Regions from separate parts of the Homo sapiens genome. Here region 1 is linked to region 2. Evidence: promoter capture Hi-C in 16 types of primary human blood cells and fetal thymus (Javierre and others, 2016). All regions are on one chromosome and are shown on one strand. The core of a region is centred on a gene start or on the middle of the fragment in contact, and the rest is flanking DNA. Distances in the headings are between cores, read along the strand shown.

Region 1 (3,432 bases), core at 171-2,670, 3.2 Mb before region 2:
CCAGGAGAAAGCACAGCCTTCACCCTCTAACACATGACGCTAACAGGATCTACTGCCTTAAAGATATTGGGGGCATTAAGAGTCTATGGGAACTCTGGTACTGGGAACACAGTGCCTGGCCCTTGGCAGAAGTGCTGCCTCTGTCACCACCATGCATCTCTGAAGACCTGGGAAAGCGCCCTCATCAGTGTCCCCAAGCACTGAGCAGATGGGTGGCAGGAAGGGAGTGGTGTGACTGAATTCTTCAGAAGCATATTCCTGTACCAGATTCTGAGCAACAAGAAAACCTTGGTAAATGTACACTATTTGGGTGATGGTTACACTAAAAGCCCAGACTTCACCACTACACAACATATCCATGTAACTAAACTGTACTTTTGCCCCCTTCATCTATAAAAATTAGATAGTTTTTTTTTAAAGAAAATCCTGAAAGCCTTTTTCTGGTCCCAGGGGAACTCTTGCCCAGGCTGCTGTGCTGCTGCTGCTAACTAAGCTCCCAGAACGCTGCCGCTGGCAGTGTCTCCACCGGGAAATTGCTGAGGCCTGCTGAGCGGCTGAGGTCAAGGGTCTTTGGCCATGTATCAGCTCTGCTCCGACTTGCCGCCTCCTGGAAATTGACACCTGACTATGCAAAGTAGTTGAAATAGTCTTTGCAGAGCAAAGAAGCCGTCAGCGTTTTTCCGTGCTGAGCCTTCAAACTGTCAGATCCAATGGGGCTAAAAGAACAGGGGTGGGTAGTAATAGTAACATTAATAGACAGCATTTAAACAGTTTTTACCAGGCGTCAGGTAATTTATGTGCAACGACACCAATTATCTCATCTAATCGTCCCAACTCTCACTGTCAGAATCTCCGTTGTACAAATGGGGAAACCGAGGTCCTACGGCGTTAGGTAATCAATACGCGGTCTCATGACTAGTAACCGGGACTGGGCTGTCTCATTCTAGAGCCTTCCTTCTACACTCTCTCTCCGTCCTCTCACCCCTGCTCCCGTTCCTCCCCTTTGGAATTCTCTCCCGAGTCACGCCGGACTTTTTGGGTCTGGCGGAGGCCCACGGAGCACCTCCTTGCACAGCAAAGGCCCAGCGCCCTGGGACTGGCGTGCGCACGCACTCGGAAACAGGAATAGACGCGTAGACCTGTGCGCGCACGTGCAAGCAACACGAGTCAGGGGGTGCACAGGGGCCCCCACCTTCCTCTAGACTGCCCCCCGCCGGGTTCCACACGAAAGCCCCCGGCCACCCCCGCGGAGACCCAGCAGCCCCAGCCCGCAGCATTACCCAGTTGCGGGCCCGAAAAGCCTGCACGCATCGAGAACCCAGAGCGCCCCTGCCGCCGTACACCAGCACCCGGCGCGCCTCGCCTGCAGCCGCCGCCGCCGCCATCCTGCTCCTGCCAGCCCGGCTCCCGCAGCTCCGAATGCCTCGAGCCGGAGCGCCGCGCCCCGCCCCGGCCGGCCAACCCCGCCAAGAGGGAACGCGCGGCGGCCGCGCCCCGCTCCGCGCCCGCTGCTGCCGCCTAGCGCGCTGCCACGCTCGGGGCGCCCCGCCACCCGGAGGGACTGTAACTTCGGCCAGGCCCTGCCCCTGGGACGGGGACATCGGCGAAGCCCCTCCTCCCACCCGCCAGCAAGTGCTGGGCCTCGGGGCGTGCAGCGAGCCGGGCTAAGGGCGAGGAGGGTGGAGAGCGGGTGTTTTACGAGCATTAATTTGTGAAGTGTAAGCATGTAAAATATAGTATAGTACAATTTTCGACCACTGTTTTGGCAATTTTTTATTTTTAATTGTGCATCAAAATAGAGATTTAAGTATTCCCACCTGCCAAAAAAACAGAAGAGGTCGCTCCGCTCAAGGAGCTGAAAGTCCACCGCCGAGACGAGACAAACCACACTAGGTCTTATTTCTTCTATCTAACCGTAAATTTATACCCATTAATCCAAATGGCCCTTTTACTATATGCCACCCATCGCCAGACACAGATCCTGGCATTTTCTCCCTTGTATATTAGTTATTTCTGCCCATGGCCTGTATCTTTAACACAGAGCCTCTCATCTACAGCACTACTGACATTTTGGGCCAGATAATTATTTGTGACAGGTGCTGCCCTGGGTACTGTAGGATATTTACAGCATCCCTGGCCTGCATATACTAGAAATCAATAGCAAACCCCTACCCCTCACTCATAAGAATCAAAAATATCTCCAGATTTAACAGTTGTCTCCTAGGGGCAAATTCATCACTGATAGAGAACCAGAGCTCTAACACTCTCATAACCTTCTTGATAGCAGAACCCTGTATTACATACATCTTTGTGTCACTTCCCATCCACATATAACCTTGTACACAGCAGACACAGATGTTTGTTCAGTAAACTTGTGCCAGGTAAAGCATGCAGAAATATGTCACTAGAGAAGAGGATGCAGCCAGCAGCACATTTTGTTGTCAGAAGCTTCATTATCAGAAATAGAACTGCTAGGAGGCTGGATGGAGAGGAGAGCACCATCTATTTAGTGCTCCTTATATCCAAGGCACTGCGCTAAGTGATCTGCCTGTGCTATTTCACTTTACTCCACACGATAATCCTATGCAGATTAGAAAGCTGAGGCATGAGAGTCACAGACACTTGTCTGGAAGAGTGGGAATTTGAACACAGGTCTTCAATAGCTAGAGTTCCACTTAACCACACCTTTGTTCAGCAAGACAAAGGCTTGTTGGGAATCAAGTGTTTCCCTTAGAGTTTTTCTGAAAACAATTGCTTAACCCTCAAAACACCAAAAGTTGACACAGGTCCCTCACTGACGGCAGAAATATGACTCAATGATATTTACGCAAGTCCTGACTTGTCAAAGCATGCTTAATGTTAAAATAAGAACGTGAACTAACATTATTGATCACTTAATGTGCCAAGCAGTCTTCTGAGCCTTTTATATGTATTCTGTTATTTTTTACCAGAAAAACATTTGCTGTTTCAAAGTCACTGGGATGAAGATGAGCTGTTGTAATTCAAAGACCTGAATTTCAGCCCCAGCACTGACATCCAGTTTTTCATGAGAGAAATGGCTGAAATCGTGCATCTCCTGTTTACCTTAAAGGGTTGCTGGAGCATCAGAGGTGAGCAAGCATATGGTCAAAGCATTTTGCATTTTGTACATGGTAAAGTGCCACTCATCTGTATATATAGTAAGAGACAGGATCTCACTCTGTTACTCAGAGTGGCATGATCATAGCTCACTACAGCCTTGAGCTCCTGGGCTGGAGCAGTCTTCCAGCCTCAGCCTCCAGTAGCTGGGACTACAAATACACGCCATCAGGCCCAACTATTTTTTTTTTTTATTTTTTGTAGAGATAAGGTCTCACTACATTGCCCAGGCTCAGAAATTCTCATTTTTATTTTCATTGTGGAGTGGCCACTGAAGTGAGCCCCAGTTGCGAG
Region 2 (3,778 bases), core at 976-3,475:
CTCTCTGCCAAGCCGGCTTGCTTCCTGATCTGTTGCTAGGGCCGCTGGACCCCGTTGCTAAGGACCCTTGAGATCGTGAGCGCTTGGAGTGTACCCCTCCTTTCCTGGGGTAGAGGGTCAGTCGAGAGTAGCCTTCGTTAACCTTAATTGAAACTGGTAAACTCCTCCCTCGGCCCCTTTAAAAAATCTCTGTTTTTTCTTTATTTTTTTTCTGTGTCTTCCTCTTTTGCTGACTTTGATAGCATCCTGGCTCTGGACTGGTCTTTAAGTATCTAGAAGTGAGTGTAGGAGGGGTGGCTGGGAAGGTGGAAAATAGATTCTAAGACCCCTAAGCAGATTGTGCGACCCTAATACTGGCCCTTTGAATTTACTTTCTGGTAAAAAAGGGACTGGGATAAGTGACTATTGGGCTCTGGGTCTTTTAGAATTTGACAGAGCTTTACAAATGGAACATGGTTTCTTTAGTGGGGCTCTTACTTACACGTTTGGAACTTTCTAGACCTGGATTAGAAAGCAGGGCTCTGCTGACTGAGAATTGTTTTAGTTCAGTGGTCTTAAAGCTGAGTACGGGAGAAAGTACATACAGGGAAAGAAATAGGCTATATCAGCTGCCCAAACAATGATAGAAAGTACACTTTCCTACCATTGACACAGATACCGGCAGTCCCTTGTAGATAGATGACCTGTAGCAACCAAGGAAGCTTTAAGGGGAATGTGTGGGCTTCATAGGGTGGTTTGTTTGCTTTCTGATATTGTGACATAGTTTAGGTGTTCGAAGTTAAGTGGATTTATGGATTCTAATATCTATAATTAGAATGTTTATCTTGTTTTGTAAAAGAATGAGCGGTGACCTTGATAATATTTGTAACACAAAATAGTTCTTACAGGTTCGCTTCTCCCCATCACTGCCCCTTTACACCATCCTCTACATGTTATTTAATGAAAAACCACTTGAAAGGGTTACCAAGGATAAGATTTTTAAAGCTTGCTTTCACAAACAACTCATGCTCCAGGCTTGTCAGTGGCATGCTTCCAGGTGGATATTATTTTAAAAAATTGACTACATTTCCCGTCGTCCCTTGGTGTCCGTGGAGAATTGGCTCCAGGACTCCCTCCCTCCCCCCAGTCTCTTTCAGATACCCAAATCCACCCATGCCAAAGTCCTCCAGTCTGCTCTCCGTATCCGTGGTTGGGTCAAATCTATAGATGTGGAACCCGCATATACGGAGAGCCAACTGTAATTTGTCGTTAAGGTAAAGGATAAAAATTTTAAGTGAAAAAGCAATTGTTTTGGAAGGAAATTCTCTAATACAGGATTTTGAAAGGGGATGTAGACGTGTTTGCATTACTGTATGTTTAATGCTGAAAATTATATATTGTACATAAAAGTTGTCCTGTATACTCATAAACTGTAGAAGCTCGATTTTCTACCATGTTTAAAACTTTTTCAAATGAGTTTTGGTGACTTTTTGAACTCATTCAAAATATAATGCAACACCTCCCCATTAGTTTGTTACAGGAACAACTTTTTGACGTGAAGGAAGATAGAAATTTAGCCATAAAATTCCATCCAAAACTTCCACTGAATTGGTAGGTAGTATTGAAAAATGTGCATCATAATTTGATATGGCTGCCTGTGCCCTTGTTATGTTTGTGGGTACGCGTCTTTGCTGTGCATCGCTTTTATCTGTTGCAGCTGTTAACAATTGATGATCAAGAGAAATTGGACCTCAGCTGGTCTTCAAATTGATGTAGCCCAAGATGTTAAGCCAGATTTTTTAAAAATGACAAAACATGTGGTTTCACTATTAGTAATAGTAATACTGAAGAACACTTTGTACCATTGTAAAGAAAATTATAATAATAGCTAAGACTCATGTGGCCCTTACTGCATGCCTCCCATTATGGAAATGTTGTTTTACATATATTCTTACTAGTCTTCATCAACACTTAAAGTAGTTCCTGTAATTATGCCCAATTATAGAGTTGAGGAAACTGATGCATTTTTTTTTTCAATAGAAACTTGTGTTGTTCCCCCTCCAGGAGCTTCTCAAAACAGAAGTCAGGCACAATATTAAATACTTGTTGAATGATCACAGAAGTACAATAGTAGGTTAACATATTTAAAGCTTCTCTCAGCTTATTTTAGACTATTATCTGACAACTTTAATGAGATTTTAATTACCGTAGTATTAGAAAATGGCCCTGGGAATGGAGGTGAAGTGTGATACTGGGAAGTAAGTCATCTGCTGGTAGTGGGATGAGATAAATGAGATCAATGTACTAAATCAAGGAAATTGAAATTATTCAGTGTGCAGAAGCAAGCTTACATTTAGGTTATCTTTACATGGTATCAGACTTTAAGCTGGTACATCATGTTTGAGATATCTGGCTAAATTTTATAACATGGAGCTTTGTCCTCCTTTTGAGGATTTCTAACTTGTTAAGTGGATTAAAAGCATTTCATGTGAGGAATCATTTTAAAAAGTATCAGTGTTTATCCTGAAGAAGAAAAAATGAAGGAGTTAAGAGTTAATGCCATCAAATATTTGAAAAAGTGTCATTTGGAGGTGGAAGAGGACTTTACCTGTGTTGTCCTAAGGGAAGATCTTACACTATACTTGAGAGGCAGTCATTATTAAAGGCATTAAAATGAGACGTGTGCTAATAGAATAACTAGATTGTCGTGGAAGTGAGGGAACAGAGTAATCAAGTAGAAATAAGGACACAGGATAGAAATCAATGCCATAGAAATACACATTTGAGAAACCAAGATGAGGAAAGGCTTCATGGAAGTTGGGAATGAAGCTTGGCCTAAAAATACCAGTAGGCACTTGGGTATATGAGTGTGTGTGTGTGTGTGTGTGTGTGTGTGTGTGTTTGTGTGTGTGTATTTCTTGCTAGAGATACAATTGTAGAAATTGATTGGATTAGCTGGAAACCTTGGGGTATGAACTAGAGTCCTCCATTAGCAGAAAAAAAGCAACTGTGTAAGGGAAAAGTGAACCAGTATTCCCTGGGTGAGTAACTTGAGAGATAATTTCATTTGCACCTCCAGAAAACCTTGACAGGCTTTTATTTCCCTCTTTAAACAGGTCAGGAAGTCGAGGTTTAGGGAGGTTAAATAATCTGCCTAAATTCATAAATTTCATAATTGGTAGAACTGAGATGCAGACCCATATTTGAGCCCAAAGCTCTTTCTTTCTCATCACGTGTAGCATTGAGTGTAGGAAATGAAGGAAAAGGAGACAATGGTGATTCTAAGTTTTTCAGTCTGAGGACCAGAAAACTGGTGGTACCCTGGGTTAACAAGGGGTTCATAATAACTTCAGTGTGACAACCTCAGTTTTAGTTACATTCAGTTTAAGGAGCTTGTGATACATTGGGTAGGAGAGTTCATTATGTCACTGGAAAAGTAGAGCTTGATGTGCACATGTTAACATTTGGAGCTTTGGAAATACAGAGGCCAGAGAAGATGGAGAAGATGACAGGGAATGTACCAACCACTCCTTTCAGAAATCTAGTCTGTGTTTTCTAATGTGGTCAGAGAATTGGAAGTGAGTTTCTAACAGTTTATTTTGACAATTTGAATGGAAAAAAAGTTGACTTTTGTACATCATTTCTTGGAGATGATTATTTTGCTGTTATTGATACTATTGAAGTTGACATAATTTCATGTTTTCTCATTAGTCTTTTCCAGTATTTTGCTCCATATCAACTTTTTTGTGTGTCTTTTACTGTATTGTATACTCTGTTCTGGTTTTGTCTTTTTATTGAT

Evidence for each region. Contacts are between HindIII fragments. The CHiCAGO score rates a contact against its expected background, and 5 or more counts as called.
Region 1: the fragment with the promoter of QDPR here is called in contact with a fragment that was not itself captured in region 2 in 4 of 17 cell types (naive B cells, total CD4 T cells, naive CD8 T cells and 1 more); the score reaches 7.5 in naive B cells.

Annotation. Positions count from the first base shown.
Region 1 is chr4:17,510,670-17,514,101 of GRCh38, forward strand. It overlaps QDPR (quinoid dihydropteridine reductase), which reads right to left and starts at 1,421. Exons shown (of 7, transcript NM_000320.3): 1 at 1,281-1,421. The coding sequence starts at 1,385. RefSeq lists a silencer at 1,050-1,629. The HindIII fragment of the contact is 4,464 bases long and covers 1-2,446 here.
Region 2 is chr4:20,700,632-20,704,409 of GRCh38, forward strand. It overlaps PACRGL (parkin coregulated like), which reads left to right. Exons shown (of 9, transcript NM_001258345.3): 1 at 1-156. Among named protein-coding and RNA genes, the nearest start is that of PACRGL, 2.1 kb to the left of the region's middle. RefSeq lists an enhancer at 1-59. The HindIII fragment of the contact is 196 bases long and covers 2,128-2,323 here.